Linked DNA regions of Homo sapiens: all the other regions are linked to region 5. Evidence: promoter capture Hi-C in 16 types of primary human blood cells and fetal thymus (Javierre and others, 2016). All regions are on one chromosome and are shown on one strand. Each heading gives the region's core, a stretch centred on a gene start or on the middle of the fragment in contact. The rest is flanking DNA. Distances are from core to core; before and after follow the strand shown. Region 1 overlaps ARHGDIB (Rho GDP dissociation inhibitor beta). Region 2 holds the start of CLEC2B (C-type lectin domain family 2 member B). Region 3 overlaps KLRC4-KLRK1 (KLRC4-KLRK1 readthrough). Region 4 holds the start of MAGOHB (mago homolog B, exon junction complex subunit). Region 5 holds the start of CDKN1B (cyclin dependent kinase inhibitor 1B).

Region 1 (2,700 bases), core at 76-2,575, 2.2 Mb after region 5:
TCCCTTCCTCTTCTTCCTTCCCTGCCCCAGTGTGGTCTGCTTTGTTGCAAAGCTTCACTGAAGCTAGGTAACTGTTTCCACACCAAATACTTTCCCCTGGATGGGAGCTATGTCCCCACTCCTTCCTCCTTAAAAATAGATTTTTGTCTTTGAGGAGTATTAAAGAGATAAGAAGTTCTGGGGAATTGAAAGGATTGTTTAAAAACTGAATCAACCTTAAAATGAGACTATATTATATTTCTTTTAAAAACTTTCATGTAAACAATTTAATTTTAGGTTTTATTTATTGCTCCCTGTCTTCATTGAAGCCAGAGGTCACTCTGCGAATGATGAGAAATGTCAGTGAACACAGGCACAGCTAATGAAGAGAATTCCCTCTGGCTCTGGAGCAAAATACCACAGAGACTTAACTCACGGCCCAAAGCTGGATCTGCAAAATTGTGCTGGATTATGCATCTAGACACACAGGCCATGGATATTAATGTATTAGGTAGAAGAGATAGCGATGAGAGAGAGAGAAGGAAGAGGGGAAAGAGGGAGAGAGAAAGAGGAGAGAGAGAGGAGGGAGAAGGGAGAAAGAGAGAGAGGGAAGAGAGAGAGAAAAGTGGAAATACCAGAAGTAGGGGATTTCTATCAGAGAAGTTCCTATGTGAGCATCAGCATTCTCTGTAACTCCTGCTACCTCCACTTTCCCTGCTGACTAGGATATGTCTGACTTCCCCCAAATCGGGCTGTGGGTCTAGTGCAGGTCTGGAGAGTCAGGCCATCTCTAAAACACTGTTGACATTTCAGAGCTAGTCAAGGATTTGAATGTGCTGTGCTGCTTGCCTGGCAATTTGGTGTATTACGGGATTGCAAATTTGTCTCTCAGGACACCAGAAGCCTTCTTGGTTCGGGATTCCACCCTCTCCCCACCGCCCCTGTCCCTGGTGACATGGAGGAATCCATACTCCCCACTTTGCGGTGCTGCTTTCTACCACCTCAGCCCCATGAAGGACTACGAAAACTTCAAAACTGGATGAGAAAAACCAAAGACAAGATTATTTTGTAAGAGACAATAAATATTGTAATCAATCCAGAGAAGGGCACAAATTACTAGAAACGTAATTTCTTACCATTTGTCTTTGTGAGAGAAACAATTTATTATTTCTTGCCTGTGCATTTTTTAGTGTGTTTTTCTAACCCACATTCATATGCACAAAGAGAGAGAACTCAAAGAGATCCCGTGAGCTTTGCTGAGTGCCCAACGTGTGAAGTCATGCCACCAAGTACCTTCACAAATATTATTTTAAATAATTCTCAAAGAAAACTGTGCATTAAGGAAGCCATTGCCTTCAGTATCTCAATATATTCACAAAAGTTTTAAATTAGCATGAAAAGTTAGACAGAATTGAGAGAGAATTTTTTTTATGACCGTTTGTGCTAAGATTATTAGGCTCTTTAAGAAAGCCCAAGTGAATTTTTACCAGCGGTAAAATTCACTCTTTGGCTGTGGACACCAGAGAGTAACACAACACAGGATGATTCAGGATGTGCTTATTGCACAGATAAATGTTGCTGACGTTTCAGGGGCAACATGAGACTCATCTCTGGGTATGCCAGTGTAGCCTTGAATACAGGATCCCGGGCAGCAATAACACAAACCAGGAATAAGAACTCTCAAAATATGGAATTGGAGAAAATTTCTTCCATGTGATTCTTCCTAAAGAATGTGGGAGATCACCTGAGCCTCAGGAGGTCGAGGCTGCAGTGAGCTGCGTTCACGCCCCTGCACTTCAGCTCGGGTGACAGAGTGAGACTTGTCTCAAAAAAATAATAATAGGCCATGCATGGTGGCTCACGCCTTTAATCCCAGGACTTTGGGAGGCCAAGGCAGGCGGATTGCTTGAGCCCAGGAATTCAAGACCAGCCCTGGCAACATGGAGAAACCCCGTCTCTACTAAAAATGGTAAAATTAGCCAGCGTGGTGATGCGCGCCTATAGTCCCAGCTACTCGGGAGGTTGAGGCGGGAGGATCACGTGAGCCTCCTGAGTAGGTAGGACCACAGGCACGCACCACCATGCCCTGTGAATTGCAATTCAGAGGCATTGTGGCTATTGATCCTTTTTGTATCAGTATGTAATTTTAGTCAAATTATTGAACACTTCTGCATTCTTCTCAGGAACAAAATTTGAAAGTTTTTATCACCAGGCCTGACACATAGAAGGCACTCAATGAATGTTGGTTCTCCTTTTCTATCTGCATAATTTCGACTCCCCAGGGCTTCTCTTTTCCTGCTAGCTGATGTTTGTCATGTACTGTGCTCTCCCAAATCAGCTCAGACCCGTATCTTTCCCTCAGAATGACTTTGTGGTGCTGAGTGTCTACTGAAAACAGAACCTTAATGTTGCTCAGAGCTAACTTCCCTAGGGGACAAACTCATGCTCTCCAAAGCAAGGAAGGACCAAATTCCAGTCGAGGCCTGAAAAATGCTTGCCAGTTTCTGTTCAGTGACAGCATAGTTAGTCCTCAGGTTTTGCATCTGTGAAGCATGGATGGAGAAAGAACTGTCTCTTAGAATTTCACACATCTCACAAAAGAGTAAGATGCTCTTGTTACTAAGCTTGTGCTATATCTGCTTTGGGAGGGAATATATTCTTACAAATTAAAAAAACACAAAGCCAATGGCAAGATTCACGATGCCTGCTAGGGACTGGACC
Region 2 (2,700 bases), core at 1-2,500, 2.8 Mb before region 5:
ATACTGAATATATTATTCAGTAACTTTTAAAATATATTCATATGTAATATGATATATAATATTGTATTATATAATGTATTTATATACAAATGTATAAATTTATACAATTGATTGAAAGTAGAAAATAACACTGGTTTTACTAGTGGCTGGAAGGCCTTCTTAAAACTTTTGATTAAAATGATATTTTATGCTACCATCAAATATTGATCTCATTCCCCGCAAACCTGTTTTATCTAACTTTAGGCAGAATTATAAAACCGGTTAAAATACGGGAGGAAGGATAAAGTGTGCATTCTATTGTACCACAGCAATAATTTTTTTGACCGTAGCATACGCTGGTAGGTTGACATTTAGTTAAACGGGAAATGCTTAAAGCTCATCACAGTCCCTAAATCTCTAAATCATAGATCGTTGTATTGAATGCATTTAGTTTCAGCCTTTTCTCTTTCAAATATTTTGACATAAATAAACCCTGTTGAAATCTCAAAGATGTAGCTTGGATCTTATATATTCCGAACTTGCTATTTAATAAATCCAATGTTACCAGGTTGTTTCATAGTGTATTTTTTAGAACATTTTCTTTCCTTATCCTTCTTAGGGTTGGTAAAGACATCTCCATGGATATCGGAGTACTAGCAATTCCTTAGTAAGAGTAGGAAAGGGATATATTCTTTCCGTTAAGTACTCCTAAAGCCCGGAGTATCTTTACACCATCCAATAAAGCAATCTTTAAAAATATTAGAACTATTGGCTAAATTTATCATATTATGTATGCATTCTGAGAACTGTATGAGTATCTGGATCATATCTATCATCTTCTCAAGTATTTGTTTTATAAAATACTTAGTAAAAATGAAACTAAATCTTGAGCAGTTTTAAGTCATGGTTAATCCTTCTCCATTGTAATTCAAATAATGTAAAGTAAGTCTGAATTTATTAGGACAAAACAGTCATATGCAAATCTCAATCTTGTTATAAGAAGGAATTTTCTAGTTTCACAAAAGAAACCACAAAATTTAATTCTTTTCTCGAAGGCTTTAACATTCTGCATCACAATTTCAATAAATAACGGTCATTCTAAACAAACAAAAATGTTCTTACCGTGCTTCTTTTAATCAGCGTTTTGATTTTCTGCTAGCAGCTTTGTGTCATGTCTTGCAGAAACTCTCTTCAAAGTTGTAACTTTATTTAACTTTAATATAAAAATGTTACTCTTGTTTTTACAGCACAGCTCCAAACTAGAGGTATACCACTTTTGAAGAGTAACTCAAAGTATAAATAGCATTTTGCAAACTGGAAGTAACCATGTGACTATCTATTAGTCATACTGTTGTTTATTACAATTTTCTTCTCGTCAAAAAAGAAAGCTTGCCAAGGAGGAAGGAAGTTTGTGATATAACAATTTAAAGCTGAAGAATAAACACATATTTTCTTACTTTCTCAACTGGGATTCTCATCTGAACCACAGAACACGAAATTGCTCAAGTGGCTGTTTTTCTGATTCATCCAGGAGTGGTACTTAACCACGTATCCTTCCAGAACTGTAGGAGAGGCTGATACTAATTAATTCAACAGCATTCTTTAGGACATTACTGCTTTCTTATCCTGTGTTAAGAAAGATCACCTTAAAAGCGATAGAATCAAAGAAAAAGCAATGGTTTAAACTTTGGCTACTGAAAGAAAAACAAAAACTATTATCTCTCTCTCAAAGACAAATGCGTGCAAAGTCACACGTGTGGGTGTGAGCACACACACAAACACACACAAAGACACACAGAGGGAAAAAAGAAAACGAAAGTAACAAAGTGCCCAGAACGTTATCATCAGCATACAAGATGACACCATTATGCTTTTGCTAAGTTACCAGGCCACAATTTTGTCTTCAAATCTGCTCTAATCAGTTTCCCAGTGATTTTGTATTACCCCTCAACAAATATATTAGGGAGGAAACTGAGGAGAAGAAGCCAGTGTCCCGCAAGCGGCTTCGGGATTAACACTGCATTTGTTCTGAGAGAGAAACTTGAAGAGGAAAAGCAAATGAGAATAGAGAAGAAACTGTAGTACAAAGGAATTAAAACAAAGAAAATATGAAGAGAATAAGAAATACAGGTTTAATCATTTCTGGGCAGAAGGAAAGGACAGATAACAAAATTGCTCTTTTCATTTTTGGACAGAAAAAAAAGACAGAAAATTCATGAGGAAATGAATATATTCTACCTTTGTTGTTAACAAAAGATTGTATCCAAAGAACTATTAGAAAAGCATGTATAGAAAAATATAGAGATTACTCAAGTATGGTTGAGTGAAATTTAGTTTTGTTCCAAAAAGGAAAACAGTCAAGATACAACAGTTAAGATATAAAACATTTTCAACACAGGGAAATGTTCCCCGCTGTTGCTTTGCAGTTCATCCTCACCCCTGAAGCCAGGCAGCAGCCAACTTACTGTCAATAAACATGAGCTTTGCTGGTTTTAGAAATTCCTGTTAAGCAGAATGATACAGTTGGCAATTCTTGTAAGTCTGATGTCTTTCACTGAGCATAATGTTTTTGAGTTTTATCCATGTTTTTGCACAGATCAGCAGTTAATTTCTTTTTATTACTGAGTAGTATTTCATTGTACAGACATAAAATATTTTTATCTATTTTATAATAAAATGTATCCATTATGACATTGAGCTTTTTCCACTTCTTGGATATCA
Region 3 (2,717 bases), core at 155-2,654, 2.3 Mb before region 5:
GGCAGGGGAGTTCAACAACACATTTTAAGCAATGGACAGATCATTCAGGCAGAAAATCATAAAAGAAACATCAGAGTAAAACTATAATATAGACCTAATGAACCTAACTAAATGTACAGAACATTTCATCCAACTGCTGCAAAATACACATTCTTCTTATCAGCACATGGAACATTCATCAGGACAGACCATATGCTAGGTGATAAGTCTCAAAACATTTCCAAAAGTCAATATTATATCAAGTAAATTTTCTGACAACAATGGAATAAAACTAGAAATTGATAACGAGGAACTTTGGAAACTGCACAGATACATGAAAATTAAACAACATGCCTTTGAACAAATAAACAAATTCAGTAAAGTTTCAGGATCAAAAATCTGCATACAAAAATCAGTAGTGTTTCTATACACCAATAACAAACTGGATGAAAAAGAAATCAAGAAGTCAATTCCATTTGTAATACCTACAAATAATAAAATACCCTGGAATAAATTTAATCACACAAGTGAAAGACCTCTACAATGAAAACTGTAAAATACTGATGAATGAAACCAAAGAGGATGCAAAAAAATGGAAAGACATCTCATGTTCATAGACAGAAAGAATATTGTTAAAGTAATCATATGACTCAAAGCAATCTACAGATTCAGTGCAATTCCTAACACGATACCAGTAACATTCTCTACAGAAATAGAAAAATATCTTAAAATTTATATGGTACCACAAAAGACTGAATAGCCAAAGCAATCTTGAACAAAAATGAAGAAAACTGGTGGCATCACGTTACCTGACTTCAATATATACGACAAAACTACAACAACCAAAACAGTATGGCATTGATATAAAAATAGACACCTAGACCAATAAAACAGAATAGACAACCCAGGAATAAATCCATGTATTATAGCCAACTGATTTTTCCAGAAAGTCACCAATAACATACACTGGGAAAGGAGAGCCTCTTCAATAAATGAAGCTGAAAAAACTGGATATCCACATAGAGGAATGAAATTAGACCCTCATCTCACACCATATACAAAAATCAACTCAAAATGGATTAATGACTTAAATATAAGAACTGAATCTATAACACTACTAGAAGAGATAAGAGAAACACCACAGGACATTAGTCTAGGCAAAGATTTTATGGGTAAGAATTCAAAAGTACAGGCAACAAAAGCAAAAAGAAACAAATGAGATTGTATCAAACTAACACACTTCTCTACTGCATAGGAAACAATTGACAGAGTGAAGAGACAACTTGTAGAATAAGAGAAAATACTCGCAAACTATTCCTCTAACAAGAGACCAATATCCAGAATATACAAGGAATTCAAACAACTCAACAGCAACAACAAAAACTGATTTGAAAATGAGCAAAGGATCTGAATAGATATTTCTGAGAAGATATACAAATAGCCACAGATATATTTTTTGAAATTCAACATCATTCATCATCAAGAAGATGAAAATCAAAACCACAATGAATATCATCTCACCCTAGTTAGAATAGCTATTATTTAAAAAGACAAAAAATAACAAATGACAGTGAGGATGCAGGGAAAGGCTAATGTTTATACAATTTTGGTGGGAATGTAAATTAGTATAGCCATTATGGAAACAGTATGGAGGTCCCTTAAAAAACTAAAAATATAACTACCATATGACTCAGCAATCTGGGTCTTTCTCCAATGGAAAGGAAATCAGTATATTGAAGTAACGTCTGCACCCCCATGTTTATTGCAGCATTATTCACAATAGCCAAGATATGGAATTAACCTGTGTCCATTAACAGATAAATAGCTAAGCACACACAGACACACACACACACACACACACACACACAGAGGAATACCATTCAGTCATAAAAAAAAGAATGAAAAGAATGAAATCCTATTATTTGCACCAACATGGATGAGTCAGAAGTACATAATGTTACGTAGAGTAAATCAGGCATGGAAAGATAAATACCACATGTTCTCACTCATATGTAGGAGATACAAACTTTTAGCTCACAGAAGTAGAGAGTAGAATTGTGGTTATTTAAGGCTAGAAAGAATAGGGGGGAGGAGAAGATTGGGAGAGGTTGGTTAATGAATACAAAATTACAGCTACATGCGGGATTTTTCTAGTGTTCTATAGCACTGTAGGGAGAGTACTGTTAAGAGTAATTTATTGTATATTTTCAGATAGCTAGAAGAGAAGGTTTTGAATGTTCCCAACACAAAGAAGTGATAAATGTTGAGGTGATGGGTGTGCTAATTACCTTGATTTGGTCATTAGACATTGTATAGTTGAATGGAAATATCACTGTATCCCATAAATATGTATAATTATTACATGCCAACTAAAAATAAACAAAAATTACCGTTCCCCTTAACTACATATTAAAAATACATTTTAAAGAAACTATAATACACAAAATATCCTATGAATTTTTTTTTTTTTTTTACCTAAGACAATATCCTGGTGATTAGTCCTCATGGCGTATAAGGATACCAAATTTATAAATAGCTGCATTGTATTTCACTGACAACTCTGGACAGATCTAATTTTTGACGGACTGTCAATTTTTTTTTCCAGTGGATATTTAAATTGTTTCTTAGGTCTTGCTATGAGAAATAATGATACATTTCATACCCATCTGTGCATATTTTTGAGTCTCTCTCTGGGATAAATTCCCACAATGATAATTGTTGAGGGAAAGGGCATGTGT
Region 4 (2,700 bases), core at 1-2,500, 2.1 Mb before region 5:
TTGTTAACACGTTGGGCTCCTCCCCTTCAAAGAAAACACACAGCCTAAATGAAAAAAAGGTACTGGTCACCACAAGATTTTATTCATCCACTGGACCACCCGCTGGTGGGGGTGTTTTCAAAAAAGTGCTAGCATTTTCAATCAGGGCGACGATCTAGAGTCCCTTCTGGTGCACTGTTACAGAATTCTGATTACTGTAGGTTCAACTTTTCAGTTTGTGACAGGATTAGCTTTAATTTATTGCAATTAATTCTCTTTCATTTATAAAACCAACTTATGCCTCCTCTATTCTTAAGCTCCTATTTCCTTCGAGGGAAGCAGTGGCCTCCGCCGCCTGTACCCTCCACACCACCCGGCCTCTCGGTCTCGCTCCCCTTTCCCAGCACCGCGTGCCGTGGGCCTCTTCTCACCGTCCGGCCGAAATTCGAACTCCAGAAACTCGTGCCCAAACTTGCCCTTGTGCCCTACGTAGTAGCGCAGGTAGAAATCGCTAGCCACAGCCATTTTTGTACCCGGGAAGCCCGCCGAAAACGCAGCCAACGTGTCCCCCGGCGCCTTGCAGTGACGTCATCGCGCGGAATAAGTGCGTCACCACAGGCGCTTCTCTTCCTCCTGCAGTGCAGCCCTAGACTAAAGCGTGAAAGCCGAGTATCGCGTGAGAGTCCGGAGGCGCTGAAGGGAGGGTCGCAGCGCCGTGACTTTCGCTTTACTAGGAATGGAGGCACATTGTTTTCAAAATAAAGATTACATTATACTAGCAAAGATTAGAAATGTGAGCATATGATAGTCTTTTTTATGGACTTAGAGCTAAAGGTTTGCAAGTCACTTTTACTTTTCTGGTCTCCCAATCCTTGCGGCGTTTGTGAGGTGGGTGTGGCTCTATGCCCCCTTTAACTGTGAGCTAAATAAAGATAAAGCTTAGAATCGAAATGGCAGACCGGGAATATAAACTATTTTTCTTACTTAATTTCTAACAGGGTGCTTTCCCTTTGGATAGCGATTGGTAGTTACCCGGGACCTCTAAGCCTATAATAATAGAGACAAAGTCAAAGGAATCCAACTCTTAAAACCCTCACACCCCCCACACCTGAAAAACCCTGACAGTCACCGTGCTTTTTTTAACAGCAGAACTTCTAAGGTTCTTAATTCATTCAATAAGGGTTAACTTTTAGTAGCCTGTGAAGTTTTGGCAATTTGACTTACGATACAATAATGGTTTAGCCCATTATTGTTTCTCGCCAGATAGAATTAAATTGGGGGAATGAAAGAATGCTCCAGTGTGGCGTAGTTTTTAAGGTAAGGGAAAGACTTTTACACAAAGTTTCCTTTTCAGATATTATTGATCACCCTTTTGTTATCAACACACAGAGTAATCCTATCTGTCGGTTGACAACCTTCAGTGATTTTTAGTAGAAAGTGGTGGAGAGAAGACCTGGGATTCAATCCCAACACTTAACAGCTAACTAACCTCGGGCAAGTGACTATCTCTAAGCCTGTTTGTTCATCAGCCTAATGCATATACAGCAATCTACATTGCCAAGCTCACAGAATTCTTGAGAGATCTAATGAGATAATATGTAAAATAAGCTTTAAATTTTATAAAACATTAGTTTTAACAAACATTTCCTATGTGACAGTTTGAAACTAGAAATAAGCCATTTGATCTGGTAGTCTAGAAAAGAAAGCAAACACGTAAGGCGAATACCAGCACAAGGGAGCAATTGCTATAATTAAGAATATATGTGCCATCCTGGCCAGCATGGTGAAACCCCGTCTCTATTAAAAATACAAAAAAATTAGCTGGGCGTGGTGGCGCGTGCCTGTAATACCAGATACGCGGGAGGCTGAGGCAGGAGAATTGCTTGAACCCTGGAGGCAGAGGTTTCAGTGAGCTGAGATCGTGCCACTGCATTCCAGCCTGGGCAACAAGAGCGAAACTCTGTCTCAAAAAAAAAAAAAAAAAAAAAAGAAAAAGAAAAGAAAGCCTATATGTGGCCGGGCGCAGTGGCTCATGCCTGTAATCCCAGCACTTTGGGAGGCCAAAGGGGGCAAATCACCCGAGGTCAGGAGTTCAAGACCAGCCTGGCCAACATGGCAAAACCTTGTCTTTACTAAAAATACAAAAATTAGCCAGGTTTGGTGGCACGTGCCTGTAATCCTAGCTACTCAGGAGGCTGAGGCAGGAGAATCGCTTGAACCCGAGAGGCGGAGATCGCGCAGTTGCACTCCAGCCTGGGTGACAAGAGCGAAACTTCGTCTAAAAAAAAAAAAGTGTGTAAAACATGCCGGTAGTACAGCAGAGGAAGCAAGAGCATTCTATTGCAGAGTAGGGAAATTTGAAAAAAGAGTATTGGAAAAGGCTTGTCAACGGAAGTGTTTGAATTGGACCTTGAGAAGTAAGTTCTGTGTATGTTCAGTGGGATGAAAAAGCATTCCAGGCAGAAAATGACCCGAGCAAAGACAGTGGTGTGAAAATTCATGTTTGGGGAACACTAAGAAATTCGGTATAGCTAGAGCATAAGGTTCAAGTAGAATGACTAAAAAGGCAAATTGGGCCACGTTTCCTTGAGTCCATATTAGTAGTTATATAACTATTAATATAGAAAAATGAATCAGTCCCTACAATGGGCCACCATTTTGGAAAGTACGTAAGAAACAGGAAGCACCATGTTTTACCACTAGGGTGACTAGCCGTTCCAG
Region 5 (2,700 bases), core at 201-2,700:
AAACAAGCTACACATCAAGCTCATCTGTAGCATAGGTGCTTAAGAAAACTTTGCTGCTGTGTAATATTAGAACGGAAGGTTGGTTTCCAGTAAAATGCATTAACTTTGGCTCAAACCAAGATGATGGGTACCGGGCATGGGGGTGGGGAGGCAGTTGAAGATCCACTGAGCTTTGTCTCAGGGCAGCCCTGCTCATCGTCCTACTTTACCTTCCACCACGGTGCTCAAGCCCACACTGAGAGAGAAATTTCCAGCTGCAAAAGGGAGAAGAGAAACGCTGGAATACTAGTATCGGACGTTAGGACATGGTTGTGGTGTTTTAAAAATCATTTCATCATCTGGAGTTTGACCCCGAGGGGAGTATTTTCACCCTTCAGCCCTCTGAAAGCATTCACTAGCATCTGAATATTGTTCTGAGTTTGTTGGAGCAGTGAAATCTGGTGAGAGAGAAGGGTGGAGGAAGGAAGGAGCTGTTGTATTTGGCGGCTGGACTCAGGTAGAGGAAACTGCTACAATCCCGGGAAAGAACAGAAAAGTAGAAAGGGACGAGTTCCCACACGCAGCCAATGTCCATGGCCTTAACTGTGCTTGGGAAGGAAGATCCTGGGCCAGGGGTGTACCCTCGTTTTTCAAAACTAAACGTGTCTGAGACAGCTACAAAGTTTATTAAGGGACTTGAGAGACTAGAGTTTTTTGTTTTTTTTTTTTAATCTTGAGTTCCTTTCTTATTTTCATTGAGGGAGAGCTTGAGTTCATGATAAGTGCCGCGTCTACTCCTGGCTAATTTCTAAAAGAAAGACGTTCGCTTTGGCTTCTTCCCTAGGCCCCCAGCCTCCCCAGGGATGGCAGAAACTTCTGGGTTAAGGCTGAGCGAACCATTGCCCACTGCCTCCACCAGCCCCCAGCAAAGGCACGCCGGCGGGGGGGCGCCCAGCCCCCCCAGCAAACGCTCCGCGGCCTCCCCCGCAGACCACGAGGTGGGGGCCGCTGGGGAGGGCCGAGCTGGGGGCAGCTCGCCACCCCGGCTCCTAGCGAGCTGCCGGCGACCTTCGCGGTCCTCTGGTCCAGGTCCCGGCTTCCCGGGCGAGGAGCGGGAGGGAGGTCGGGGCTTAGGCGCCGCGGCGAACCCGCCAACGCAGCGCCGGGCCCCGAACCTCAGGCCCCGCCCCAGGTTCCCGGCCGTTTGGCTAGTTTGTTTGTCTTAATTTTAATTTCTCCGAGGCCAGCCAGAGCAGGTTTGTTGGCAGCAGTACCCCTCCAGCAGTCACGCGACCAGCCAATCTCCCGGCGGCGCTCGGGGAGGCGGCGCGCTCGGGAACGAGGGGAGGTGGCGGAACCGCGCCGGGGCCACCTTAAGGCCGCGCTCGCCAGCCTCGGCGGGGCGGCTCCCGCCGCCGCAACCAATGGATCTCCTCCTCTGTTTAAATAGACTCGCCGTGTCAATCATTTTCTTCTTCGTCAGCCTCCCTTCCACCGCCATATTGGGCCACTAAAAAAAGGGGGCTCGTCTTTTCGGGGTGTTTTTCTCCCCCTCCCCTGTCCCCGCTTGCTCACGGCTCTGCGACTCCGACGCCGGCAAGGTTTGGAGAGCGGCTGGGTTCGCGGGACCCGCGGGCTTGCACCCGCCCAGACTCGGACGGGCTTTGCCACCCTCTCCGCTTGCCTGGTCCCCTCTCCTCTCCGCCCTCCCGCTCGCCAGTCCATTTGATCAGCGGAGACTCGGCGGCCGGGCCGGGGCTTCCCCGCAGCCCCTGCGCGCTCCTAGAGCTCGGGCCGTGGCTCGTCGGGGTCTGTGTCTTTTGGCTCCGAGGGCAGTCGCTGGGCTTCCGAGAGGGGTTCGGGCTGCGTAGGGGCGCTTTGTTTTGTTCGGTTTTGTTTTTTTGAGAGTGCGAGAGAGGCGGTCGTGCAGACCCGGGAGAAAGATGTCAAACGTGCGAGTGTCTAACGGGAGCCCTAGCCTGGAGCGGATGGACGCCAGGCAGGCGGAGCACCCCAAGCCCTCGGCCTGCAGGAACCTCTTCGGCCCGGTGGACCACGAAGAGTTAACCCGGGACTTGGAGAAGCACTGCAGAGACATGGAAGAGGCGAGCCAGCGCAAGTGGAATTTCGATTTTCAGAATCACAAACCCCTAGAGGGCAAGTACGAGTGGCAAGAGGTGGAGAAGGGCAGCTTGCCCGAGTTCTACTACAGACCCCCGCGGCCCCCCAAAGGTGCCTGCAAGGTGCCGGCGCAGGAGAGCCAGGATGTCAGCGGGAGCCGCCCGGCGGCGCCTTTAATTGGGGCTCCGGCTAACTCTGAGGACACGCATTTGGTGGACCCAAAGACTGATCCGTCGGACAGCCAGACGGGGTTAGCGGAGCAATGCGCAGGAATAAGGAAGCGACCTGCAACCGACGGTAATGACCCTTTCCCAACCATAGAATGTGTTTGGGGCCCCGCTTTGCCTGCTGGAGGGTGTTAACCTTAGCTTGCTTTTCGGCGTATTCTGATTTAGCTTTGGGAGAGCTAACTTTATTGGTCTTAGGTGTTCAGTGCTACCTGGCCCACTGCTTGTCTGTTTGTGACTTTTAAGTCAGAAACTGGAGATGGTAAGATCCGATAATTTCCCTAACTTAATACATCGCGGTCCCTCTCACTAGCAACTCCTAGGTATGTGACAAAGTTGGGATGTTTATCAACGGTCCGCCTCCTGGCTAGGG

Evidence for each region. Contacts are between HindIII fragments. The CHiCAGO score rates a contact against its expected background, and 5 or more counts as called.
Region 1: a fragment that was not itself captured here is called in contact with the fragment with the promoter of CDKN1B in region 5 in 2 of 17 cell types (non-activated CD4 T cells and naive CD8 T cells); the score reaches 8.9 in non-activated CD4 T cells.
Region 2: the fragment with the promoter of CLEC2B here is called in contact with the fragment with the promoter of CDKN1B in region 5 in 2 of 17 cell types (non-activated CD4 T cells and total CD4 T cells); the score reaches 8.8 in non-activated CD4 T cells.
Region 3: a contact is called between a fragment that was not itself captured here and the fragment with the promoter of CDKN1B in region 5, in 1 of 17 cell types (total CD8 T cells). The highest score is 5.7, in total CD8 T cells.
Region 4: a contact is called between a fragment that was not itself captured here and the fragment with the promoter of CDKN1B in region 5, in 1 of 17 cell types (naive CD8 T cells). The highest score is 5.1, in naive CD8 T cells.

What each region holds. Positions count from the first base shown.
Region 1 is chr12:14,957,316-14,960,015 of GRCh38, forward strand. All of the region lies in intron 1 of ARHGDIB (Rho GDP dissociation inhibitor beta), which reads right to left. Among named protein-coding and RNA genes, the nearest start is that of ARHGDIB, 2.9 kb to the right of the region's middle. RefSeq lists an enhancer at 2,629-2,700. The HindIII fragment of the contact is 2,551 bases long and covers 51-2,601 here.
Region 2 is chr12:9,868,104-9,870,803 of GRCh38, forward strand. CLEC2B (C-type lectin domain family 2 member B) reads right to left here and starts at 1,251. Exons shown (of 5, transcript NM_005127.3): 1 at 1,102-1,251. The HindIII fragment of the contact is 5,556 bases long and covers 1-1,365 here.
Region 3 is chr12:10,383,550-10,386,266 of GRCh38, forward strand. All of the region lies in intron 8 of KLRC4-KLRK1 (KLRC4-KLRK1 readthrough), which reads right to left. All of the region lies in intron 3 of KLRK1 (killer cell lectin like receptor K1), which reads right to left. The region is part of intron 3 of KLRK1-AS1 (KLRK1 antisense RNA 1); the gene reads left to right. Among named protein-coding and RNA genes, the nearest start is that of KLRK1, 5.1 kb to the right of the region's middle. The HindIII fragment of the contact is 5,161 bases long and covers 1-2,717 here.
Region 4 is chr12:10,613,029-10,615,728 of GRCh38, forward strand. MAGOHB (mago homolog B, exon junction complex subunit) reads right to left here and starts at 581. Exons shown (of 5, transcript NM_018048.5): 1 at 411-581. The coding sequence starts at 504. RefSeq lists enhancers at 1-517, 302-701, 518-1,395. The HindIII fragment of the contact is 670 bases long and covers 916-1,585 here.
Region 5 is chr12:12,715,918-12,718,617 of GRCh38, forward strand. It overlaps CDKN1B (cyclin dependent kinase inhibitor 1B), which reads left to right and starts at 1,451. Exons shown (of 3, transcript NM_004064.5): 1 at 1,451-2,397. The coding sequence starts at 1,923. It also overlaps a transcript of GPR19 not described here. RefSeq lists silencers at 835-1,404, 1,829-2,017 and enhancers at 1,425-1,474, 1,555-1,654. The HindIII fragment of the contact is 7,251 bases long and covers 1-2,700 here.